Regions from separate parts of the Homo sapiens genome. Here regions 2, 3, 4, 5, 6 and 7 are each linked to region 1. Evidence: promoter capture Hi-C in 16 types of primary human blood cells and fetal thymus (Javierre and others, 2016). All regions are on one chromosome and are shown on one strand. Each heading gives the region's core, a stretch centred on a gene start or on the middle of the fragment in contact. The rest is flanking DNA. Distances are from core to core; before and after follow the strand shown.

Evidence for each region. Contacts are between HindIII fragments. The CHiCAGO score rates a contact against its expected background, and 5 or more counts as called.
Region 2: a contact is called between a fragment that was not itself captured here and the fragment with the promoter of PBX1-AS1 in region 1, in 3 of 17 cell types (total B cells, naive B cells and endothelial precursors). The highest score is 8.6, in total B cells.
Region 3: a contact is called between a fragment that was not itself captured here and the fragment with the promoter of PBX1-AS1 in region 1, in 4 of 17 cell types (naive B cells, naive CD8 T cells, total B cells and 1 more). The highest score is 7.9, in naive B cells.
Region 4: a contact is called between a fragment that was not itself captured here and the fragment with the promoter of PBX1-AS1 in region 1, in 3 of 17 cell types (naive B cells, total B cells and endothelial precursors). The highest score is 8.4, in naive B cells.
Region 5: a contact is called between a fragment that was not itself captured here and the fragment with the promoter of PBX1-AS1 in region 1, in 1 of 17 cell types (fetal thymus). The highest score is 6.3, in fetal thymus.
Region 6: a contact is called between a fragment that was not itself captured here and the fragment with the promoter of PBX1-AS1 in region 1, in 2 of 17 cell types (endothelial precursors and total B cells). The highest score is 7.2, in endothelial precursors.
Region 7: a contact is called between a fragment that was not itself captured here and the fragment with the promoter of PBX1-AS1 in region 1, in 1 of 17 cell types (endothelial precursors). The highest score is 5.4, in endothelial precursors.

What each region holds. Positions count from the first base shown.
Region 1 is chr1:164,772,832-164,776,623 of GRCh38, reverse strand. It overlaps PBX1-AS1 (PBX1 antisense RNA 1), which reads left to right and starts at 1,983. Exons shown (of 4, transcript NR_038072.1): 1 at 1,983-2,195. All of the region lies in intron 2 of PBX1 (PBX homeobox 1), which reads right to left. The HindIII fragment of the contact is 2,806 bases long and covers 1-2,395 here.
Region 2 is chr1:163,372,062-163,375,853 of GRCh38, reverse strand. No RefSeq gene overlaps it. Among named protein-coding and RNA genes, the nearest start is that of NUF2, 52 kb to the right of the region's middle. The HindIII fragment of the contact is 2,805 bases long and covers 716-3,520 here.
Region 3 is chr1:163,396,394-163,400,185 of GRCh38, reverse strand. No RefSeq gene overlaps it. Among named protein-coding and RNA genes, the nearest start is that of NUF2, 76 kb to the right of the region's middle. RefSeq lists an enhancer at 1-316. The HindIII fragment of the contact is 3,046 bases long and covers 142-3,187 here.
Region 4 is chr1:163,415,328-163,419,119 of GRCh38, reverse strand. No RefSeq gene overlaps it. Among named protein-coding and RNA genes, the nearest start is that of NUF2, 95 kb to the right of the region's middle. The HindIII fragment of the contact is 3,415 bases long and covers 481-3,792 here.
Region 5 is chr1:163,509,297-163,513,088 of GRCh38, reverse strand. It overlaps the pseudogene RNA5SP63. Among named protein-coding and RNA genes, the nearest start is that of NUF2, 190 kb to the right of the region's middle. The HindIII fragment of the contact is 1,432 bases long and covers 1,313-2,744 here.
Region 6 is chr1:163,558,670-163,562,461 of GRCh38, reverse strand. No RefSeq gene overlaps it. Among named protein-coding and RNA genes, the nearest start is that of NUF2, 240 kb to the right of the region's middle. The HindIII fragment of the contact is 6,081 bases long and covers 1-3,792 here.
Region 7 is chr1:163,577,601-163,581,392 of GRCh38, reverse strand. No RefSeq gene overlaps it. Among named protein-coding and RNA genes, the nearest start is that of NUF2, 260 kb to the right of the region's middle. The HindIII fragment of the contact is 631 bases long and covers 1,504-2,134 here.

The sequences.
Region 1 (3,792 bases), core at 734-3,233:
ATTCATCCATTTGGAGAATATGCTGATCTTTAAGGGACAAGTATTTCCCTAGAAAAGGCAAAGGGAAGAGAACACTTTAGATGAAAAACAAAGAGGACTCAAAAAGGAAAAAGAGGGGTGGGAATGGCAAAAGAAAAGAGGGAGATAACACTCAAGATATTTGTGGATCAAGAGGTATTATGTGGCCCAGATGTCTCAGCAGTGAGGACATAGCACAGCACCCCTTCCTTCTAAATCACATGCCACAGCCGCCCAGTACCCCTTCCAGAGCAGCTTTTCTGTTCTGCCTTTAGCTGGCCATGCCCTTTACACCTAAGGAACACCCATGTTTCTGGGGATGCGGATTCTCTGCTTCCTAGAAAGAAAGGCAAGAAAGGTACCTGGGAAGGAACCCACGTACAATGAGCTATGATAAATACCTAACAATTTATACCGCGCATTCAATCTAGGATAGGCTGCCTCTTCACTGAAATCTATTAATTATTCATACACTAAATCAAAGACCCATTCCTTGATTGGTTACTATGGGCCAGACAGGTAACGGTCACAGAAATGAAAGACAAAGTGCCTGCCCTAAAGGAAATGATAGTGTCATAGAGAAAAGCTGACAAACCGATTATTAGTATACAGAGATGTGGAGGAAGTTTACTCAACAAATGGCCTCAATTGTGATATCATCACAATTAAGCCTTTTGACATTCATCCTTATTTCCTTACTCCAGTGTAGACTGCCACATATTCAAATATACAAACAGACCCCAATGTATGCCCATGCAGCAGGTGACAAGGGCCAGGTGCTTGTGTTTACCTGTACTTGTTTCAGCACTCACCCCATCCTTACACCATTAAACCGAATAGCCATTTGTAGGGCTTAAACACTTAAAAGCCAGTATTAAGCAGAACCTCAGCTCTGCATCTGGGGACAAAATACCCCGCAAAAGGGATGGGAATCCTGAGAGTGCAGCCAGCATAAATCACGCCAACATCACTGGGCAGACGGTTATAACAAAATGCACTTCCTCCTCCATGAAGAGCAAGGGCTTCGTAGACTGCACCCAAGCCACAAGCTCCACACCAGACCAGAGATGGGCTGGTAGGCAGAGGCAAAGGTGGTTTCAAGGCTTCTGTGGCTTTGAAGAAAACATCTTTGAGTGTGAGAAAGCATTCACATGGTCTCTGCGGGCATCCTTTCCCTGTGGTCGGGCACTCTTCAATCTGTGGCTGTTGATTTCACCACACACTCAACTTGTCCCGCCATAGTCCTCCCTAACGTAGCCCTAAAGACAAAAAGACCACTAAGATCGCCTTGCAAACCTAATCAGAATGTGGCAAGTCTGGGGCAGTGATCTTTCACTCTATGATCTTTGACAGTGGGTCCTAGGGGCAAAAGTCTCAGACTCTTAAAATCTTATCTGGCTCCTTCCGTTAACAGAGAAAAGTAAATATTTAGCCACCAGCACAGAGGTTGAGAGAAAAACAGCTGTAATCAACACTCCACTTCTCACCCCTCCCAGATCAGAGGTGAAGCCTGACACCCCTGACCCCTAAGCGAGCTTCCTCGGTGTAGCGAAGCACAGAGCCCAGCCAGCAATAATTCCACATATAAACAACTCTTGCTAGGCATGAAGCACACACCAGACAGTAATCAGCTTATCTAACAGAACAGGCCTCTTTTCCGAACGCAGAGGAGGATTAGCAGGCTTGAATTACAGCCGTGAAGTGTAATCAAGCCCTGGTGGACCCTGGCAAAGGCTACTGTATATTCCTGCTGGGCCATGGGTTGTTGGCACGATGTGGTGTACCTACAGGGGACGAACAGAAAATGCTTGAGATGGTAATTACACTGGGAGACAGCAGTTGAGAAATGGGGAAGAGCAAGTGTGGAGGGGAGAGAAATCAGATTCCAGCTGATGCCCACGTCCTCCACATCTTCCAGTCTTTGGAAAATCTTGAAGTTACTGGATTTGAACAGATTTTTCTGGCTTATTAAAAATAGAATATTGCCTACATCACATAAAGGGCAAACTCCGCCCTCACTTGGTCACAGAAGCAATTACAGCATTGTCTGTAGTACACAGCCCACGGCCTCTAACCACAGTGATGGGCACACTTGGTGATGTGCAACTCAGTGGGGCCTACAGGGTCCCAGCTGACATAGACATCACAAAGGAATTTGAACCAGGACTCAGAAATAGGTAGACAATTTTAAGAATTGTATCCTCACCTTGAAGATGCTAAAACCAACCAGATGGGGGTTTCCTTTTATACCTCCCAGATGGAGACTTCTCATTTCGAAAACTTGAGAGTCCAGCATTTAATGATATGCCTACAAAAAAGTCTCTACTTAGTGAATTCCATGAAAAAAGGCACTATGACTTTTGAATTTTTTGAAGCTTCCCAAAGAACCCTGTGCCTTGCTGAAAAAGAAAATTGTCTTATGTTAGGTTTATTTTTTTTTTATTCTGTCATTTATTTGTGAAGAACTTTCCTTAACATCCTATTCATAGCACCCCACTATGTAAAACAATTCAACAACTCATTAGCTTTCCCTTAAAGTAATCTTAGCCCCCTCTGAAGTTCCTCATCTATCTTGCCATCTATCCTTTTCTCTTACTCATATTTCTTAAAGATCAAAGAATTCAAAGTGGATATCACGTTAAAAAATTGCCTTCACTAACATGGGGAGTCGTAGAAAAATAGCTTCCTGGCTTTCTTAAGTTCTGGGCCTCTTGAGGCAGATCCACTGCGTTAACACTGCAAACACGCTTCCTTCTCTTCAGTCAAATCTCTCCCCAGCTAACTCTTCTAATACCAGCTTTCCAATGCCTTCCCAACACCCAATCCTTTCCAGTACACTTGGAGAGAGCAGAGACTCCAGGTGACATCATGAATCCCCTCTAGAGATGATCCATGGGTGAAGAGAGAGTCATGGCCCATGCAGTGTGGGGTACGGTTGAGGGCTCTGAAATGTGCCACAGGCCGCTCGTCCTACCAGTCCCAACCTATTCCTCACTAGCTTATCCCTTAAGACACATGTCCCCAAAACCACTCTCCACATTTAATCACAGCATAGAAGCCTGAAAGCAGTGATCTTTCACGCCATAGTCTTTGACAGGGAACTCTTAAGGCCAAAACTGCCAGACTCTCAAACAACTGATAAGTGCATAAACCTAATTTTCAAAACAATTTAATTGACTACAGTCTGATTGCTGGTACACATGAAGATATACCGTGTGTCAGCAGTGTTTGAAATAGGAATGCTGAGCTGAGTGTGAGTGGGTCACTCAATTCAGTCTATCAGGTTACGATCTGACAGTGGAAGGCAAGAGACAGCATATCAAGAAAAACTCTGTGTGTGTGTGTGTGTGTGTGTGTGTGTGCGCGTGTTACCTATATGCAAGAGCTGGAAAATAGAAAAGAGCTCTGATGAGTGACATGGAGCTGAAGATCCTTTGCGAGAACTTTAAATTCATTCCAAAATGCAACCAAAATAATTACAGTATTCAAAATTGTGCCACCAGTACAGAGGGCTGAGAACAACTGCTCTTAGTGGGACAAAGCCACAAAATGCAAGAAGGAACCAAAATCTACCAAGAATTACCTTGGAGATGAGTTAAGCTGATCTGGCCTTATGATAGTTCTGATAGCCAAGGAACAGGTCAGGGCTGGAGCCCAGAACTGGATATGGTCATATCTGAGAAATCAGACACTCAAGAGTAGGAGTCACCTCTCTGGGTCTGAGTCAGCAGGCACCTCCCGCCTCTGACAGGCCTAACCACTTATCATGAGCCA
Region 2 (3,792 bases), core at 869-3,368, 1.4 Mb after region 1:
TACTTATGCCACATTCTATTTTCAAAACCAAGTCATAAGAAGAACTAAAGGGGTGGGGGGAAGTGATTCTATCTCTCGATAGAGGGAGCTTCAAGGTCATATATCAAGTGGCAAGAATACAGGCAGGGATGGAAAATTGGGGGAATTTTTGTAATTAAGCAATCATAGGATGCATAGAGAAAAGTTTAGAAGATAATACACCAAAAATATTGGCATTGTATTCTGAATGGTAGAATTATTGATAATTTTTTGTTTTGTATACTTTTCTATTTTCACCTTTTCTATAAACAAGCAAGCTTTATTTTTATAAGCAGATAAAAATAAATATGTAAAAATGTCTACCCACTCTACATAAACAAGGTGATATAGACACATTAAAGTAATTGTGGGGTCACAGAAGGAGGTACTTGGCATAGTCTGGGGTGGATGACAGAGAAAGCTTCTCGAGGGGATGACATTTGGTCTGGGCATTCAAAGAAGCATGAGGAGGATTTGACTAAGCCAAGGAAGATGAGGGCATTCTAGGACAAACATACGTGTGGGAAACAACATATTGTTTAGTAAAATCAAAGAGCTAAAATAATGACAGGTAGAGATGACCCAGAGAGGAGCTGTGAGAAAATATAGAATGGGTCCAGGAGAGAAACCTGTGCAATTTGAGGGGAGAGAACTGAAAGGAAATGGGGAGGGCTGGGGGTTGTGCTGGGGAGAAGCTTATGTTTTACTGACTGAAAGTTAGCTATGAAAACCTAGCCCTTTAAACTCAGAGCTGGCTAATTTCCAAATGGGGTTCTCTTTTATGGTCTTAAACATATTGTTATGGTCATGTCAACACTGGTGCTAAAGATGGGAATTTGCTTATAGCTGAAATCAAAACTCCCAGAAAACTAGGGAGCAAAAGTAAAAGGTTGGCCATCTATTTTCTCAGCAGCATCAACTATCCCCCCTTCCCCTTTTGAAGCATAGAGAATCTGAGCAACTGCCTTGCTATGGAAGATTTTTAGAGCAAGATTAATCAGCACCTGCTGATTAAATTTTGGGCTATAAAATTGCAATATAGCTGTCACAGTTCTAGTGACTGTAGTCTGTGTTATGTGTTTTCCAATGAAGTGCTTAATTAAAATGAATGCCTAGATATTTAAATTCCTAGAACCAATCAATCAGCTGGTTGTTTATGACTTATCAAAGGGCCCCTTTTGTCCCTAGTGTGTTGTGGTGTATAATGTAGTTTGGCTTCTAAACCAGAAGTTAACCTATACTCCTGAGAATTGAGTTCACAACCTCATAAGCACCTAACTTTATCAAAGGAGATAAATGCAGCAAAACACTCTAACTGCTATGCTAATGGAGACATGAACAACAAAAGATAATGTGTGGAAATCCAATCACTGGCTTCAAAATGCCTTCTCTCTCAGTAGATTGTCAACTCTTTTCTATTTTTAAGAAGTCTCAGGTCGGGTGTGGTAGCTCATGCCTGTAATCCTAGCACTTTGGAAGGCCAAGGCAGGAGAATCACTTGAGCACAGGAGATTGAGGTTGAGCCTGCAGTGAGCTGTGATTGTGCCACTGCACTCCCACTTGGGTGAAAGAGCAAGGTTATAGATGAAAGATAAGGAAAGAAAGAAAGAAAAAAGAAAGAAAGAAAGAAAGAAAGAGAGAAAGAAAGAAAGAAAGAAAGAAAGAAAGAAAGAAAGAAAGAGAGAGAGAGAGAGAGAGAGAAAGAAAGAAAGAAAGAAAGAAAGAAAGAAAGAAAGAAAGAAAGAAAGAAAGAAAGAAAGAAAGAAAGAAAGAAAGGAAAGAAAGAAGAAAGGAAGGAAGGAAGGAAGAGAAAAGGAAGTCTCAGTAATTAAACATTTATGTTGCATGAAAAAGCAATTGACACCAGTGAAATTTTTTTTTTTACTTCCTTCTGCAACTTTTTTTTGGCTTTTTATCATGATGGGCAGAGAACTGAGAGAAATGGAATTTTTCTTTTAATGATAAATTAATTTTAATTGTCATTGCTAGATTTAGCAAATAAAAAATACAGGATTCCCAGTTAAATTTGAATTTCAGATAAATGATGAATAACTTTTTAGTATAAGCACGCCCTAAACTTATATTTGTTTATTTGCTGTATTTTATTTGCCAACCCTAATTTTAAGGCTTTGCTAAGATCACAAAGTCCTTCTTTACAGAGACACTATAGGACTACTAATACCCATGGGAGAACACAGACGTGAGGTAAGCCATCAGACCATGCTCAGTTATAGCAGAACAAAGGCAGAACTCCTGCTGTCTTGAGCCCCTTGTAGGTTCTCTTCCATGAGGACACCCCTGTATACTTTGGTTGGGCAAGTCATTTGATGAATTTCACAATCTTCCAAATGAGTCCATGGAATTTTAGGTAGCATACCCAGAGAGAAATAAACTTCTTTAGACCAAACTACAAATTAACTAATTTGAGAGCCAACATTTTGACTGCTGGCAGCTATCCAGTCCAAATGTACAATTGAGCATGGTGGTTCACACCTGTGATCCCCACACTTTGGGAGGCCAAAGTAGGAGTTTAAAAAAATCAGGACTTCATAAAAACACAAAAATATGAACTGCCAATGAAAATGTTCACTTTAAGGAATATAACTAACTTAGGAAGAACCCCCTATACATCAACTAGAGCAACGATAAAATAGAATTTGTACACTAATCTTCAATTCCTTCCTCATTAAAAAATTAGAAAAAAACATTTTTTTAGATTGGTTAAGACAAGAGAAAAATAATCTTGGTTGTAGAAACAGCCAGAGTTTTCTTCTTCCGTCTAGTCCTAATTTTGGAGATTCTGCCACATATTACATTCTGTTCTTGTCCCATACTTATCTCTCCGAGATGATGTTTCCATGTTTCAAGGTCTTTATTACTATGTAAAGATTTTTCTTAGTATCTATTTGCAACTGCTCCTTGTTTTTTTCTCAGCTTTAAGTCCTGAGTGTTTTCCAAGTATACTGCTAAGGAGGTTTGCTCCTTCCAATACACTCTGCCAAATGTGTGCTAATTACTTACCACATTAGGAATAGCTTATCTATTTGTCTGCTTGGTGCTACAGCTCAGCTTTCTAATCCTCACTGCCTGTGCAATCAGCATTCTTCCCCACTGGATCTATACGCCAGGGTGAGAGGAGGGTGTTTCTCACCTTTTGGGGAGGAAGTATTTATTAGAGTCTGATTTGAAAATAAATTCCCCACAGAACAGAAACACTGTTTCTGAAACACATTTCATCCATTCATTCCTCCACAAATTATTATTAGCACCTGTTATGCGCCAAGCACGATACTAGGCCCTGAGAACATAACTGTGAACAACTAAAAAATGTGGAAGTCTAGTGTGGAAGTGAGCTATGTATACAATAATTCCAACAGTGTCAAATGCTCTTGATAGAAAATGATCAAGATGACATGTGAGAATGCCACAGAGGGACTCAACTGAGGTTAGGAAAGACTTTTTGGAAGAAATGATAATTACGCTGAATAGTATTTAGCAAGCTTAAAAGAATAGTGTGGAAAAGGGATGTATGAAACAGCATGTGCAAAGGTCCTTAAAGAGAGACGTAGAGGATGACATAATTGTGGAAATGACAAGAATATAAAGGAGCCTTCAGTAGATCCACAAATATCTATGGAGTGCCTACTACATGCCAAGCATTGTTCTACAATCTGGAGGTACAGCTTTGAGTATTATATACATTGAGGAGGAGCTTAAATCCTAGTGGAGGAAGACAGACAACAAATAGGGAAGTATTAATAAGATACCCAAAGT
Region 3 (3,792 bases), core at 415-2,914, 1.4 Mb after region 1:
GCACTTGGCTCATAAAAGAAGCCCCATGGCTTGAATCCACCAACTCCCTGCGATCTCCGACAGCAGAGCTGCTCCGAGACCTGCAGACAGGCAGGGGGACAAACGACGGGGGAAATGCTGCCAATACTGGGAACAAAAGCTTGCTCACATTGCTGGAGTTACACGGGATGTAGCCTAGGAGTTTTGCTTTCATGGACGAGAAAAAAAAAGAATATTTAGAGTCTGGGATGGAGAGGACAGAACAGAATTATTATTCTTTGTAAGGAAAACCAGGGAAAACTAGAGGACATAACCAAAACAGAAGCGTTTTTATAGAGCCAACAAATTTCATTTAACAAAATGGTTGAAATTATGTGTTCTTTCTTCAATCTTCATGTCCCCTTCTTTAAAATTAGATCCCCAGTGAAATTCTCAGAGAAAAACCATGGGAGCTTCTTTTACTCTCTCTTGTTTCTTTTGCTTTATTTCTTCTTTTCTCTCTTCTGCTCTGTCTGGAATGGGCTGAGGAATGGCAGTGCCTGTTGACAAAGAGATTGATAAGGATGAGACTTGAAAATCATTCTCAAAATGTTACTAGTAGCCCAAATTGAATTTAGAGAAGTGGCCTTAACTACTAATAACTAATAATAAATAGCAGTTTTTAACCACTTACAATGTGCCAGAAACTATTCATAGCACTTTACCCACACTAACTCAATTGTACAATCTACTCCTAGGATGGTATGGTATCCTAGGTGGGTACCATAATAATCAATGACGTTTTAAACATGAGGAAATTGTAAAACAAGAAGGTCAAGTAACTGTCTCTGGGTCTCTCAGAGAGTAAGCCATGAAGTCAGGATTGAAAGCCAGTAAACCTGGCTTCAGAAACTGCTTGAACACCTCACTATGCGGCCTCTGAGAAGGACCATCAGGCATTGGCCCAGTCGCCATGGTGACTCCCTTCCATGCGTCCCTCTCCAATCACTGGGTAGACTGTCTGCCTTCCTCTGGCTTTGGTTTTGTCTCTGGACACCACCTCTTAATCATTCCCCTCTGTTTCATTCGTTGAAGTCAGCTCGCAGGCAAATGTCACTGAGGCTCCAGGGACATCCCATCCAACAGCCCCAGTCTGGTGTCCAAGTCCCTGTGCTCTGGGAGGGGAAATGGAAACCTTCAAGCCCCTCTCTGTGCTCCTTCAACCACCTAATTTTGCCTCTCATTTAACCCACTCTACCCTCTTCTCTTCCTGATAATTTTAATACCTGTTTTCTACACTGTGTTTAGGTACTTGTCCATATTCATTCCACTGCCTTAAATCTGCCTTATTACTCTCAAATCTTGGGTCAGTGTCTACAGCACTTTAATCTCCTCAAAAGTGGAGACTGTGCACATTCTGCATTTGTTTTTCCCCCACAGCATAGCAGAGATGTTGAGTGAATAAATAAATGAGCAAATAAGACTACCATTGTCTTTCTTTACCTCTTATTCTTCTGATCCCAGAAAGTGAATAATAATAATAATCTCATAGTTTAAACTTCAGGCAGCTAAGTAATGCTGGAATGAGTTGTGGTGTGTGTATTATGAGGACATCAGGAATCTGAGATGATCACCCAAGTAACTGAGGCCCAGGGTTGACTCCAGTCCTTATTTTCTGCTGAGACATCTCTCTTCATTACCTTTTTGTCTAGGAACTCTGACCTCAATGACCCAATTGGAGTAGATTTCTGCTTAAGGTTTTCAGAAGTAAATGTGTCATCCTTGGTGGGGAGGGAATCAAGAGGGGAAGAGGAGGGTACTTGAAACAGAACTTTGAGACCAGTACAACTGTTTAGAGGCTCATGAAATCCAAAGAAAATGGAAAGAAAGAAGCATATCATCTGAATTAAATTCCTGAAAGCCTCACGGGTTGTTTTTCTCTTGGTTTTCAGCACACAAGCTGGAAATCAGAGGATGCTTCAATGTGCCCGCCAGCTCAGGCACTCTGTTCTAACTGGGAGAATAAGAAGATAAACCTATTCATCTCCCTCTGCCTTCCAATCCGTCCCTTACTTGATCTGCATTCAGCCTTTGTGTTATTCAGCATCCCCCCAGCAAGTTGTGGTTAAAAGAGCATAGGTCCTGAGGTTAAACAGTCTTCAATCCAAAGCCCTTTCCCACAATTTGTTTATTATGGGATCTTGGACATATTATTTAATTTTTCTGGTCTGTCATAAGATGAAATGAGGCATCATAGACAAGTAGTTAGTAAAGCTCTGGCTCATGTAGTACTGAGTAATGTTGGCCAGATTCCCCACTTTTCTTCCAACCCCTCCAATTTTCTTCTTTTTTCTTTCCTTCTTCAGACCTTTTGTTTGTACGTCTTTACAATCTCCCCTTAACGGCTTACAACTATTTTTTTCTAAATTCTTCAGTTTAATTCCAGCTCCAAGTTGAAAGAAAAAGGAAACAGAAAAGTCATAAAGGTATTCAGCTTCAAAATTATAAATGGAAAAGCACTGCAAATCAGCCATGGCCTGAAAGGAAATAAAATGTTATTGAGATTCTGTGAGTCTGGAGGCACCATCTGGGAGTATAACTTGTGAAGAAACAAATCAAATCAGTGTTTTCTTCATTCAGAAGATACTTTTGCCTCGGGGATCATAGCAGCCTTAAGCAATTTTGGGGGGTGGACTCTGAAGCAGTGTGTATTGGAGAGGAGAGGGAACAAAACCTACTGTGCTGGATCCCCTAATTAGACATGTGACTCCCACCAAATCAATTTGTCTCCCTCAGCCTTTGTTGCTTTGGCCAACCATCAAGCTCATGCAAGACTCCTATGAAAGAGCACAGCTAATTTCATAGCACCTGCTCTCCTGAATCTTATCACCATGAATATTCTACAGGAAGGACTCCTGAGAATATACGCTATCAGGAAACTACCTTTTTACTTTTGCTGCACTCTAGTAACAGGAAAAATAATAACAAGAAGACAAGATGTTAGGTAAGCAAGCTAATATAAGATGTCCTTCGGGTTATAGTCTAAACTCAGGAACTACTCAGTTCAGTTTCCTATAACATCTCTGTTCCCAGTATGAGGAATGAGATATGCACAGATAGCATATAAGGTAGATAAAGACTTATGCTCGAAGAAGGATACGTAACAAGGGAGGTTCCAAAGAAGAACAGCTCAGTCACTTCTAGGAGAGAAGTACCAGCAGGGAAAGCTTTATGGAGAAGGTAGTTTTTGAGTTAGAGCTTAAAGCATGACCAGGATTTGTTAGGTGAAAATGGAAGGTAGAACAATCCAGTTGTGAGTACCACAAAAGCCAAGCATGGATGGGAAAGTATAGGATATATTTTTAAAGGAGTGAAGAATTCAACTGGGAAGGAGATAGAGAATATATACAAAAATGATGAATGGAGGAATGGAAAAGGCCAGAGGAGGTGGGCAGGGAGGATGTTGCATTTCAGATTAAGAAATTTCAACAATGGAAAGCCATAGAACTACTGATGTGCAGAAAACAACCTAGTATTCGCCTTCACATGGAGACTGGTCTTCAGGGAAAAATATTTCCTCTCTCATATCCTTACACAGACTTTAAGCATTCTATGCTTTCCACTAAGATCCCACATTTATCCTCCCCATTTTATCACTGGATAGGTGAATTATTGATCTTAAGTTGGAAGGGAACCCAGAGATTATCTAGTTCATGCTCCCACATGATTGATTTTAAAAGCTGAGGCCAGGTGCAGTGGCTCACACCTGTAATTGTAACACTTTAGGAGGCAAGGCTGGCAAATCGTTTGAGCTCAGGAGTTCAAGAGCAGCCT
Region 4 (3,792 bases), core at 939-3,438, 1.4 Mb after region 1:
CCCTCTCACCTCTGGAAGGAAGTTATGCCATCAGAGATAAGGACGTTAACAAAAGAAAGATCTTGTTCTTGTATTTGTTATTGGTTTTTGTTTTGTTTTATTTTTTTGAGACAAGAGTCTCTCTCTGTCACCCAGGCTGGAGTGCAGTGGCACGATCTCGGCTCACTGTAATGTCCGCCTCCTTGGTGCAAGCGATTCTCCTGCCTCAGCCTCCCGAGTAGCTGGGATTACAAGCATGCATCATCATGCCCAGCTAATTTTTGTATTTTTAGTAGAGATGAGGTTTCACCATGTTGGCCAGGCTGCTCTCAAACTCCTGGCCTCAAGTGATCGGCCCGCCTCAGCTTCCCAAAGTGCTGGGATTACAGCGTTATTGTTTTTTTATTTTTGGCTTTGGTTTTGCATCTGTTCCACTCTGAGGACTTTAACATGCAAAGGACAGCACATTGTAAAGGTTTAAAGTCCTTAATGAATAAAGCTTTCGTAGCTCTTACCTCAAAGCACTCAGTCAGTATGAGGCCAGCATCTTCTGGAGATGGGAAGGACAAGATGGAGGTTCAAAATGTCTGAAGAGAACTTTCCCCCTTCAGAAAAAGGGGGAAGAATTGAGAGAGTGGGCCATGAATACAGTAAGGAAAAATGGAGGGGTAACTGATACCTGTCTCATAGGCTCTTGCAAAAACTACCAATATATATATTTATTATGCTTATATAATATATAAATACGTGGCTCGCAAAACGTAGTCACCAAATAAATGGCGGTCATTACATTTTATCATTATTATTACAATGACAATTAATATCTACAAGTGGCCAGGTACTTGGAGGTGGTCTAGTCCATGTTTCACATTGATAGTGTCATTAGCTTCCCTGCTCCATCTTCCCTGTCTTCCCTCCCTTACACAATCTGCAATAGGGAATGTATGATCCACATCTCACATATCCTGAACCTAGAAGCCCACCAATAGGGCTTTATACAGCTGCCTCTGGGAACTTTCTTACGTGAAACCGTTTTTTTCTTGGGATGTCCTACCTGAGGTACTAATATTATGTTTTTCTGTCAAGACAGGTAGTTAGCTCTTATTAACTCTGCTTTCAGTCTTGGGCTTTCATGATTGAAACACAGTCAAACCGAGAGTGAGTCCTTAGTTCATCAAGCTGTCAACAGTGACTCCACAAGAGTTGGGAACAGAAAATATTATGCCAATAATGGTATGTAAAAAGAAGGACTCTCTTTTATTGGTAACATCTGGCACAGTTTGTTAGAGCAGTCTAACCATGTGGCCAGGCAAGCACTTACTCTGATAAATGAGAATCAACATGGATGTTCGTATACACAGGGGCTCACTACTCCCCACAAAAATTACTCCAGCCTTTCATCCAGTAGCTTCCTTTATAATTTTGTCTTTTTTCTATAATTTCAACCACATGTCCTTCCAGGTTTGGAGCTGCTTACCTCCCTACAAAACCTACATTTTGGCAGAAACCCCAAGGCCTTGGAAGGCAAGACATTTCAGGACACTGCTTCATGACTGCTCCCATTTTCTTGTCTCGCTCTCCACCCACACACCTTGGGCCAGCCTTCCCCCATGACTTCTTCACAGGGATCAGCCTACACGAAGACAGAAGCAGATCAGGGTCTGTATTTTCTTTGCTCCTCACACCATTAACCAGAGTCCCAAGAAAGATACCCCATAAGCACTCAAGACTGGTTAGTACAATGTATAAATGAACAACATTTGCTTTAATGTCTCAATGTATTGATCATCTTCTCTTCCGAAAATGAATTGTTCCCCACTAGTTCCCAAATCCCACACACTGGCAGAATCATATTATTCTGATGTGGAAGATGGGTCCCTAGTGTTTAGGCATGTTATTTAGAGTAGAGCAAACCTGTGAGAAGTGAGATACCAAGTCTTGAAAAAGAATTCTTTCTGTTACTTTAGAACCATGCATGATGATTCTTTTTGTGGAATTTTACTTAATTCTCCTCTCTCTCTCTCTCCCAGCCCATTGTCAACTTTTTTTTTTTTTTTTTTTTTTTTGATACGGAGTCTCGCTCTGTCGCCCAGGCTGGAGTGCAGTGGTGCGATCTTGGCTCACGGCAAACTCCGCCTCCCGGGTTGACGCCATTCTCCTGCCTCAGCTTCCCAAGTAGCTGGGACTACAGGCGCCCGCCACCATGCCCGGCTAATCTTTTGTATTTTTAGTAGGGACGGGGTTTTACCGTGTTAGCCAGGATGGTCTCCATCTCCTGACTTCATGATCCGCCTGCCTCAGCTTCCCAAAGTGCTGGGATTACAGGCGTGAGCCACCGCGCCCGGCCCCATTGTCAACTTTTTAATAAGCCTCTCCCTTCATGACCACTGTCTCCCACATCCCTAAAGAAAAAGGTATGAGACTTAAAAATTGTAGAAATTGATTAGTATTGTTGCTTTGTTTATTAAACACCAACGAATATTTCTTCAGCACCATCTTTATGGCAGGCACTGTATGTAGGCACTAAGGACGAGACAGTGAGGAAAAAAAGACAATTTCACTTTTAAAAGATTTAGATTCTAGCAATGGGTAAACAGGCAATAAACAGTTAATATGTAAAATACATAGGATGTCAGGTGATAATATATGGTAGCAGGGAAAATAAAATCAGAGAAAGAGGCAGAGGAAGTACTATTTTAAACAGAGTGTTTAGGAACAGTGTCCTTGATAAGATGACATTTGCAACGAGACCTGACAGAAGTGAATGAGTGAGCTGCGTGGAAACCCAGAGAAAGTTCATTCCAGGCAGAGGGAACAGCAGGTACAAAGGCCTTGCAGCAGGACTATTCTGGTCCCCTGGAGAAACCATAAGAGGGTTAATGTGGCTGGCCGCTTGATAGGTTATTATAAGAACATTGGCTTTTATTCTGAGATGAAAAACCACTGACAGAAGAATTATAAGATCTGATTTGTGCTTTTAAAAGGATACTTCTGGTGGCTAGCCAGAGAACAGAGTATAGCGGGGGTCAAGGGTAAAAGCAACGAGGCCATAAATTAGGGTGTCCTTAAACCAGGAGGATCAACATAAAGGTGAGGAGCAAAGGCTAGAGTCTGTGTAAACTTAGAAGGTAGAGCTGGTAAGATTGGATGGTGAATTTGTTATGAGATATTTATTAAAATTCAACAATGGCACTAAAGTTTTTACTCTTAGAAAACATAAGAATGAAATTACTGGTTATTAAAATGGGAAAAACAAGGGAAAATAAACAAGTGTGAAGGAATGATCATGATCAACAGTGAGGTTTGAGACATGTTAAGTTTGAAATGCCTAAAGACATCTCAAAACATCCAAGATTAAACGATGACTAGGCAGCTGGACTCAGGGGAGAAGTCAAGATCAGAATGATGTATTTGGTAATCCTTAGCATAGATGATGTTTAAAGTCATGAGGCTGGAGGCACCACACAGCAAGTGATAAGAGATAGAGAAGAAAAGAAGTCTGAGCATTATGCCACAGAGTCATACTAGAGTTTAAGGATCTATGAGGGAGAATCGGCAAAGGGTACAAAAGAAGGAATTGTCAATGAATTAGGAAGTAAACCAGTAAATTAGGAGTATGGCACTGCAGAAGCCAAGTAAAGTAATGAGACTGATCATCTGTGCCAAATGCTGCTGGTGGAGAAAGAGAGATGAGGGCTAGGAATGGACCACTGAACTTCACAACAGGGAGGTCATGGGTGAGCTTAGCAACAGCACTTTGGTAAAGAAGTGGAGGCAAATGCCTGATTGGAGCTGGTGTAAAAGAAGTACAAT
Region 5 (3,792 bases), core at 779-3,278, 1.3 Mb after region 1:
GTCAAGAAATCTCTTCTAAGAGTCAAGGTCCAGAATCAGAGCCTCCTTGGTATTCTACCCCACTGGGGCTGAGCTGATAACTAAGCTGCAAGAAAAAGTCCCCTTTACTTTCCCTCTCTTTTTTTCAAGCAGAAGGGGTCCCTCCCCATACCTACCACTTCTGGGAATGTGCTGGGTCACTGCTGAAGCTAGCACTCTCTGACTCTCACCCAAAACCCACAGCAAGTACTGCCTGGGTACCACTTCTGATTATTCAGGGCCTAAGGGCTCTTTAGTCAGCAGATGGTGAATCCTTCCAGGACTGGGTCTTTCCCTTCAGGGCAATGGGTGTGTCTAGAAATGTCATCCAGGAGCTAGGGCTTGAGATGGGGGCCTCAGGACTCTGCCTAATGCTATATTCTACTGGGGCTCAGCTGGTATCCAAGTTGCAAAATAAAGTCCTCTTTACTCTTTCCTCTCCTCAAGTGGAAGGAAGGAGTTCTCCCAGAGCTGTAAGCTGCAGTCCCTGGCGTTGGGGAAGAGGTAATGCGAGCCCTCCCTTGGCCTTCCCAGCTGGTGTCTCACTAGGTCACATGCTCCCAAAGTCCACTGGCTCCAAATGCAGCACAACACCAGGACTTGCCCAGCAACTGCAGTTTTTGTGGCTAGACTACCTTTCAAATTTATTTAGGATTCCAGAGCACTTTGGTCTGTGATGGAAAGACTTGCCAGAACTCACATTCTGACTGCTAAGATGGTTGATTCCACTCTGGATACAGCTGTCTGAATGCTCTCTCTGTGGGCACTGTCTAAGTTCTGGCCAGTGTTGCTTTCCACTGTGACAGGGCAGCATTGAGTTCCAATGCAAAGTCCCACAATACTGCACTCTCACTCCCCAAAGCACATAGATTATTTATCCATGCTACACAGCCACCACAGGTGGATGGGGTGGTGGGTGGCATTGGAAATTCAAGACTGTCTGTCCTACCCTCTTCAGTGCCTCTTTCAGTGATATAAAGTTAAAACCAGGTAGTGTGATCACTCACTTGATATTTGGTTCTCATGAAGTTGCTTTCTTGTATGGATGGTTGTTCAATTTGGTGTTCCTGCAGGGAGGACAATCAGCAGAGGCTTCTATTCAGCCATCCTGCTCTGCCTCAAGCTGGCTTCACAAATTTTTATAACTCCTCCTCAACACTGTTTTGTCACCTTTAAAGATTATCCATGGATACTGTCTTATACACAATAATCACTCAATAAATCATATTTACTGTTAGTATTATCATAGCTTTTATCATCATCATCACTAATATTACCAGGCACAACTGAAGCTTCCTTCATTAGTTCAACAAACACTTATTGATCATGTCCTATGTGGTCAAAGATGATTGAAATGTATGGTGCCTGAAATGAATGTACTTTATTACCCATCAACATAACTGCAAAACTATTCACAGAAACAAGAAATGTCCGGGCTATATCAGGTTGAAGATAAAAATGAAGACATAATTATAATAACAAAAGTACATTATTTGGCTTTGTATCTACCAATTATGAGAGTTAAGGACCTACTCAGTTATTCCCTAATTAAATCTTGGGGTTCCTGAGCAGTTTCTTAGGGCTCATAAAATATTTCCCTTAGCTAGCAAGAGACATATTGGCTATATTATTTTGCTTCTGTTTTCCCCTTTGTTGTCTCCTTTTGCAACTATCCTCAATAAACCCAGAAAGAAAAACTTTTTATCTCTCTTTGGATAGCTCTATACAACATGTTTCTTTAGGGGGTGGGGAGTTAGCAATGAATTTTTTAAATGCTGGCTCAATCCTTTAAGCCAGCTTGCCCTCTCTAGTTTGACAGACCCCACCATTACCAATTGTCTTATATCTGTCACTTCACATTTCACACATCTTTATGCTGCTTGCCAGGACCCTAAAAGATTTTTTTTCATTTTTTTACAAACACCCCTTCCCATGAATTCACTAATTTCAAAAGCTAGTGATATGCCCTGGGGGTATCAAAACTGCTGTCAGACCAAGGAGGCCACACAGTGTGATGCTTTCTCCTGCCTCTTCTCCATTCTGGCTATCCTGGGCACAGAGGAAATACTCCATCATAGAATTAGTGAGTAAATGTGCAGTTGGACACATTCATTCCATATTCCTGCATAATCAAACCATAGCTCCATGAGAAAGAAATCCTTGATGTTATGTCTTGTGATTTAGTATACAAAACAAGGCAGTCTTGTAATTTCCACATATCAGGGAAATCTTAGAGAAACAGCTTTTTATTTTTACTGTCTTTACTGCTGCTCCCTCTCCCAGGCAAGTTTTATGAGAGCTGGAGAAAATAATTGGGGAGCATCTCATTGTTCTCAGAAGAGTGTGTGTGCATGTGCATTGTTGTATTTTACCTCCTCCTTACTCCAGGTAGAAAGATACTGCATTCTCAGAGAACTCTATCAGTCAGAAACACAACGAATTCAATTGCCAGCAACAGAAAATCCCTCAGAAAGTGGTTTACAGAATAACAGATTTAGTTGCAGCATGTAACAAGTTCGAGTATTGGCATTGTAGAGTAAGACAATGATTCAGTGAGCTGGGCCCCTCTTATCTTCCTGCTCTGCCATCTGTACTGTGTGGTTTTGATTTTATGGTCTTAAGATGGCAGCTGTACTTCAAGCATCATGTCTGCAGGCCAGACAGAAAGGAGGAGAAAAGAGCACAAGGCAAAAGGGTGTGAATCAACTTTGTCCTTTTTAAAAGCTTTCTCAGAAACCTCAACCAGTAATTGCCACTCGTATCTCAGTGAACAGAATAGGGTCACATGTTAATATCTATTTTCAAGGAAGTCTGAGGATGAATCTTTTTTAACCAGGCTGAATACCCCACCAAATAAAATCAGTTTTTCATCATCAGGGAAGAAAGAGAGACTGGAAACTGAATAGGTAACTAGCACTGTCTGCCAAGAATAGTGTTTGAAGTAGTGAATAGGGTCATCAAAGACATTTGCATAAGAAAATTTTTAGGTATGATTTCTAAGAAGAACTTTTGTTTTAGGTTGCTGGCACAATACAAAAGCATAACAGGAAATTACAGGACATTTTCATAAGCAATGACTTCTAAGGTCAAAGGTGAAATGACAGATTTCAAACACAACTGCATTTTAAAGTGAGATTACGGACATTCTGTGTAGGTTTTGCATAGGGAGTAGCCATTAACTGGCCCTCTGTTCATAAACTGAGCACACACCTCCAGCCTGCATAAGGAGGGTAGAGGTGTTCCCCTCACCTCAAGTCAGGTGAAAGGGTCTAAATGAGAACGACCTGGAACACTTGACTTGTGTTCATTGGAGGTCAAGGGACACAGGGACCGGTATTTTATCCTGCCTTGGAAAAGACTCAAGATGGGAACTTATGCTTCGTCCTGCCCTGAGAGCAGAGCAAAGGAGGTGGCTGTACTCAGAGTGAGATGCACTTCCCCAAAAATCTAGGAATAAGGGTATGTTTTTCAGGAAGGTATGTTTTTCTATAAGAGCTCCTTCTATGCAAGTACTAACCAGGCCCAAACCTGCTTAGTTTCCAAGATCAGATGAGATTGGTCACGTTCATGGTGGTATGGCCACACACTAGGTATAAGACCTCATAGAAGAGGAACACTCTGGATTTGTTTGAAAATGGCTTGCAACGAAAAAGACCAAGGATTCATCCTAAACTGTCACCTTTTGTTTTCTCTGCAGCAGGTGAGTCATTATGAGTAGGATGACCTTGCATCCTGGTTGGTCTGGGGCAGTCCCATGTGACCTCTGCTGTTACT
Region 6 (3,792 bases), core at 381-2,880, 1.2 Mb after region 1:
TGTGGTCTCTGCCTGGCTTAGTGCCCCCATCTGGAAAATGAACAAATTAAGTGATCCCGTGACCCTTTCTGCTCCAATGTTCTATGAGTTTAAGACTTACTGATATTTATACTAAGACTTTCTAAATGTGTGCATACGTACGGTGGATGGAGGGAGGGCAGATTCCTGACTGAAGCTACTTCTCATGAATGAAGCATCAGCAATGTCAGGAACCAGATTACATTTGATCAACACAATTGCCTTTTCCCCTTTCCTGGGGATGCTGATCCTTTTGCCTTTGTTTCTGCTGGCTTCCCATCAGGACTCCCTCCTCCTTTTTGCGCTGAATATCAGTCAGCAGGACCCCCTGGATTATCTCATCTCTACCCTCCTACTATGCATTTTCTCTCCCGTGTGTTTATCCTATTTAGAGCTGTGCTTGTTGTGCTTGAAATTTGACCCTGTCTTTTGTTCAGCAAATCAGCAGTGCTTCCCCTGATCCATGTATCCACACTGGTGGTAAATTTGGACTATTGTCTTCCAGAGTCCTTTGGAGCTACTGAGTTTTGGAAATCCATTTATTCTGTATTTGCATATGTATGTTAGTGAACATTCAAGCATCTCATCTACATAAGCAAAAGAACATCTGTTTTCCTTTCTTAACTAGTATTGATCATAGATTTTTCAGGGACTTTATTGCTAGGCTCCTTGGTATCTAATCCCAACATGTATTACAGAGCCACCTCCTGGCCAAAAGAAAGAAAGAAAGTAGGGAAGTGCTGTTTGTGAGGATAGCCGAATAGGGGGACACTGGGGCCTGGGCAGCCCTAAATGTAAACCAGGAGTCCCTCAGACTTTAAGGCAGTAGGGGCCTCCTTGTTAGGGAAATTCTAGGCCTCCTGCTTTAGTAGCAGCAGATATCATAGTCACAAGCAAAAAAAGGCCTGTTTAGAATGGATGATTTGGTTCTTAGTGATGTAGGAGCTCAGGGAAGCATCACTGGCTCTATTCCCCAAGGTCACAGAGATTATATTATTTTTAACCCCAAATCCATGAACTGTCACCTGCTGTACTTCTATGATCAAAATACATTTTCCACTTATTTGTTCACACAACATAACACACCACTAGCATGCCTGGTGCAGAATTGTGAATTGGAGAGGCAATTATGCAATCATTGAAACTGGAGAGGAGAAATATGTAACTATTTTTTAAAGAATAGTTAACTATAGAGAGAGAGCACTAAACTGGGAGTCTGAACATATGCCTTCTAGGCTTGGCTCTGCTGCTCCAGAGATGAGTGAGTTGGCCTATGCTTGCTCCTCTGGGCCTTAGTTTTCTCACTCTCATGGATGAGTTATAAAATCTCTAAGACCTCCTCTATTTTTTAAATGGTGAGTCTGTGGGTAGTCAGTCCTCTTCCTCCATTTTTATGCTTTCTCCTGCTGCTCAATTCACTCAAAACAAACATACAAACACACAAACACACACACACACACAATCTCTCTCAACAGTGCTCAATGGTAACAAAATCTTCCTCTTCATCAAAACGCGGGCTGCATAGCCAAGGAGTTTCAATGAGGCCTTCATAGCCAAAGAGGTTCTGGCCTCAGTATCCTACATTCTTCTAGGTAGTAGTGAATGGAACAGATTTTCACTGAATCAATGAATTCCTGCTACAGAATAATTGTTAACTTCCCAGACCACATCAGGTCAACTCCTTCACTCTTTGAGAACATTTTTGACAACTTAGACTAAATTCTAGACGTTTTAGCAGAAATGGAGACTTACATGAAACATACATTTACAAAGGCTTCCAGAGACCTAGTTTGCAAAATACTAGGCCTAGAAGAGATCTCGTATCTCCTGTTTAATTTCTTAATTTTACAAGTGCTGGAACTGAGGTCCAGATGTGGCACACTCTTAGCCAGAGGCAGATTCAGAACTGAAGGTTGTGTCTTCTAACCGCTGAGCTTACACTTTGCTGTCTCGACTGCTTGCTATACACCTCTTCCGTTTTGAAGCCACTGACATGTCAGTCAGAGGGGTTCTCATGTCACTGGCATGAGCAGGAGACATGTGTCAGCCCTTGGGAAATCTTTCCTCCCCAGGAGAGCAAGGCAAGGGTGCAAGAGAAGAGAGACATGGGATCGGCCTAGAGAATCAGGTTTTCTTAGGAATAAAACTTTGAACTTCAAGGGCAGGAAAAGCATCCTTTTAATTTTTAAATTTCCCTTCCTTGGTCTCAGGCACAGCCCCTGATGCAGAGCAGATTCAATTAATACAAGCTGATGGAGTGAAGCAGGAATAGTGGTAAATTCTGTGTCCCTGAGGGACAAAGTATGTAGAACTGACTCTTAGCTTTCTCCAAAAGAGTAGTGTGGGCTAGAGCAGAGTTTCCTTGACTATCATATATTAAAGTTACTTAGACCTTCTTATGTCCTTATTTTCCAATTTACTCAGCATGGATTCCATACTGTGACACCATAGCCACTCCCTTTCCATTAACCTCAACTCCTTTGCCTTTTGCTGCGTCTATTGTAAGTACCTGGTTCATTGCACCAGCACCTAAGCAGCTGAATGTTGCTGGAGTGAAACACATAAATGCACGCGTGCACACACACACATACACACACACATGCACAAACACCCCCTTCCACATGCACAGAGGTGTGATTTCCTTTTAATTAGCATTATCAATTTGGGTACACAGAACTGTCAGGCAATTCTACTAGTAGCTAAATAAATTCACTTGTTTCTTTTCCAAAAAGATTATTTCACACCTCTTTTCTCCAACATGCTTTCTGTTTCAAACCCAATTTTTAACATGTGACTGCATCTTTCTTCCTAGGGAACATGGATAGAAACATGATTGCTACCTCATTCCCCATTAGCCAACCCATCAGCCTGCCTGATCTCATCCTCATAGGTTCTGCCTTCTTACCACAAAAAAGCGTCCCTGCTCACACCTTGGAGTCCATTCTTTCTCACTTACTCAAATACTTCTCCCACTCTGAAAATATCTCCTTTTGCTCTTGCACCATCAATTTCTTCCTATTAGATCATTACTATCAGGATATAAACCTTAACATCATGCAAAAATATCATCTTTCTAAGGAAGAAAGATCCTCAAAAAACTCTCCCCGTAAGTCTGAATCTCCAGCCGGTTTCATCTCAATTCTTTGCTTCCATGCACAGCAAAATGCCTGAGAAAAGTTGTAAGAAGTTGCACTTCTTAGGAGGGCAGTTGCTGCCTCTACTTTCTCACATTCCATTTCCTCTTTATGCCACTTCCGCTGGGCTTTGTTTCCCATCTCTGAGCCCTGAAACAGAGATCTTTAGAGTTAACCACTAACTTCCATCTTGCCCTAATCCAATAGGCAGCTTGCTCTGCTTATCTCATTCAGATTCTACCCAGTATTCCACTCAGTTGATCACAACCTCCTTCTTCACACATCTTTTCTCTAGGCCTCCAGCGTATGGCATTCACCCAATTTTCCTCTGACCTCCCTACCTTCTCAATCCCTTAACTGGTATTTCTTTCTCTGCAACATCCTTAAATATTGTAGCACTTCAAGGCTCTGAAGGGTCTGTGTGTTGTGAATACCATATGTTCAGGACTCTTGAAACTGTATCTCCAGCCTGGACCTCTCTATTGAAGTTGTAAATCCAAGTGCTTATTTGGCACCATACCTCTTAAATGACTAATCGGTATCTCAAACATGATATGATCAAAACACAGCTCTTGTTTTCCTTTCACCCTCATCTAACAAGTCTGCACCTCCCTATTCTTCCCCATTTTAGCAAATGACA
Region 7 (3,792 bases), core at 570-3,069, 1.2 Mb after region 1:
ATGACAAGAGTGGGAAAAAAAACTAGAAAATTGATAAGGCTTTTATTTTCAGAACTGCTTTAAAATCACCACCTCCTCCAATTTGTTTCTTAAGTAACCAGATTTTAAATCATGTACTTGCAGTGACTAGATAAGATTAAAAACAAATGGGGGTTGGGATGGAGACACGGTCCATTGTGCCTATCAACTTAATAAATGACGTTATCCTCATCAGTCAGGTCCAGAGGCCAGCAAGTCCTGCAGTTTGCTGAGTCAGACCTAGCACATTTAATAAAAGGGATTGAAAAATAATGCTTGATGTTGCTCTAGTTCAGATGAGTAAATTGTGAGGACACCCCATACATTAAGTGAAGCCATTCATTTCCATAATGTGATAGGATCATCTCCATTGATTCCACCCCGCTCTGAGGACAGAAACTTGCCTTGAGTACCTATGAAAGACTTACCAGGGACTCAGAGGAGTTGACATGAGGCAAAGCACTAAACTCTGTGCCCCAAACCCCAGTAGATTTTTCTGCTGACTTCTCTCTCTGAATTTCTTGATTTATGTGTTTACAACCCTCAGGTCAAGAAAGAATGCCAAGATTTTACTTTCTTTTGTGCAGTATATATTAATACTTAGGAGTACATGACTTCCATTTCTAAACTTCCTCATAGTTTGTTGCTCTTAGGTAGTGAGTTTGTGAGGTCTACACCCCAACATGACTGCCTCATATGTATAACTGAGTGAGCTGAAAACGTGTCATCTTTTTCAACATTTCTCAAAGTCGTTTTCATTCTACCACTATTCTCAGTCACTTAGACTGGAACCTCCATTTTGTCACCCAATCCTCTATTGTTGTTTGCATGTCACCTTTGTATACTCTATAGATACTGAGCTACTTCATATTTTATACTTTTGCCCTATTGGAATATTGTGAGAGCCTTCTAAGTCACACTAATTTAATCCAACAACATTCAAGACATCTTTATTGTTGAACATGATAAGCTCTGGATGTGAATGTGACACAACCCATGTCCTCAAATAACTTAAAATCTAATAGAAGAGAGCTGAGTTAGAAAGATCCTTGGAGGCTCAATTCAAATAAGGAACTGATTACTTAAATGATCCCTGATAGTGATTCTGAAAATAAAAATCAGGCTGGTTGTCTAGAGGAGTTAATATCCTTGTTGTAGAAAGCAGCACATGCCAAATTCAAAGAACAAGGCAAATAAGGAACTGAAGTAAACAGCATTGAATGAGATCAGTGTCTTTGAGGTTTGAAAGCAGAACTGGTAAGGTATTGGGGCAGATAGAAGTGCTCCACACAGTACTGATTCTGTGAACTGCAAGAATCTACAGCTAAACCAGGTTAGGCCTACGCACCAGCATAGGCCTGGTGCATAACTGCCTGGATCAGAAGCAGGGACAGGAAAAGTGACTTTAAAATATATTTATGGGCTGGGCAGTTTTAGCAGGTTGTATTCATTAACTCTTTGTATGGACAAACTTTTTACAAAGCTTAAAAATTGTAAATAGCCAGTGTTACCTTTAATACTTACTAAAGGGAAAATGTTAAATAAACAATAAACATAACAGTATCCTTTTCAATGAGACTATCACTTTATTATAGATTTGGTTATACTTGGTAAATTAGGCACTAAATAATATAATTTAGTTAAAGCATTTTTCTTCATGATTAAGTAAAAAGACTACAGCATAGGTGCTCTTGTTGTTCTCCCAACATGTGTCCTGTTATAAAGTCTTGCTGGGCAAAATAGGTTGACATGATACTCTAACAAGACTTCATGGATATGTTATGCACTGGTTTCTAAAGATTGTTTCACAATCTATAAAAACTGATGCTTGTATAAGCCATGCTGATAGGCAGAGCCTCCACATACAACACCACATCTCAGGAGGAATGATCCACATCCTAGACATCACAGAGCAGCATATTTACTATGACAGCTTTCTGGAAGATGTCAGTGATGCTTCCTATTCCAACAAAATCAGTACGCCATGGCAAAAGAAGGAGTGCCCATTTCTAATTCATCTAAAGGCCATATGGGTTAGTGGGCCTGCTGCATAGGCTACAGTGAATCACAGCAAAACTAAGGCCCCCTAGTACCTTCAACTGAGGGCAATAAAGCTTAGCTCTATTTTGCCTGTGACAGTTGACATTTCTTTCTTTCTTTTTGTTTTTTCTTTAGACAGAGTTTCGCTCTTGTTGCTCAGGCTGGAGTGCAATGGCACAATCTCTGCTCACTGCAACCTCCGCCTCCCGGGTTCAAGCGATTCTCCTGCCTCAGCCTCCCAAGTAGCTGGGATTACAGGCATGCGCCACCATGCCCGGCTAATTTTGTATTTTTAGTAGAGATGGGGTTTCTCCATGTTGGTCAGCTGGTCTCGAATGCGCCGACCACATGTGATCTTCCCGCCTCAACCTCCCAAAGTGCTGGGATTACAGGCATGAGCCACTGTGCCCGGCCTAGCTGACATTTCTTGATGCTGTCATGGGTGGTGGTATTTGTTATTCTTATTGTTAACTGACAGCATGGACTTTGTCCATAAGAAAACCCATTAGCCACAATTATGGGTAGCATCTAAGTTTTGTGTTTAATAAGAAGAGTTAACATTTATTAAGCACTTAATATGTGCCAAATACCATTCAAAACACTTCACAATTATTATCTGATTTTATCTTCACAATAACTCCATGAGGTCATATTATTATCCCCATTTTAAAAATGAGGAAGTTGAGACTTGGGTAATTAACTGATTGAAGGTTCATAGAACTAGGAAGTGTTCCATCAATGGTTGTGTATTAGCATATTCCGAAAAGCAGACCAATAATACGCATACAGAAAGGGCTTTTTAAATGAGGATTTGGCTCATGCAATTATGGAACTTGACAAATCCAATGATCTGCTATTTGCAAGCAGAAGCTGTAGAAATCCAGTGGTGCAATTAAGTCTGTGTCAAAAGGCCTAAGAACCAGAAAAGCCAATGGTATAAATCCCAGTCCAAGAGCAGAAGGAGACCAATGTTCCAGCTCACTTATCAGGCACAAGAAGTAGTGAATTCTTCCTTCCTCCACCTTTTGTTCTATTCAGGCCCTCAAAAAGTTGAATGATGTTCATCCATATTGGGGAGGCCAATCTGCTTTACTGAGCCCACCTATTAAAATGCTAATCTTAGCCCAGAGTTCATGCCTGTAATCCCAGCAATTTTGGTGGCCAAGTCTGGAGGATTACTTGAGCCCAGGAGTTTGAGCCAGTCTGGGCAACATGAGACCTTGTCTCTACAAATAATTTTTAAACAAAAACTGGCCAGGCATGATGGTACATTCCTGTGGTCCTAGCTTCTCAGGAGGCTGAGGTGGGAGGATAGCTTAAACCCAGGTGGTCAAGGCTGTAGTGAGCCTGGGTGACAGAATGAGGCCCTGTCACAAGTAAAATATAATACAATACAATACAATACAATACAATACAATACAATACAATACAATAATACTAACCTCACCTGGAAACATCCTGACAAACACACCCAGAAATAATAAGTAATAAATAATAATATCTGGGCACCCCATAACCCTATCAAGTTGATACATAAAATTAATCATGACAAAATATCTGACTCAAGAACCTATATAAATGCCACATGGATTAGAATAACAAGGCAAGTCAATTGGATCACCACATAGTTGATTCACTTTTATATTTATTAAGGTTTGAACTCGTAGACATTAATAGTAGAAGGTTATCACATAGTAGAATAGTCAGGAGTAGGAGTTTTGGAGTCTACCTGCC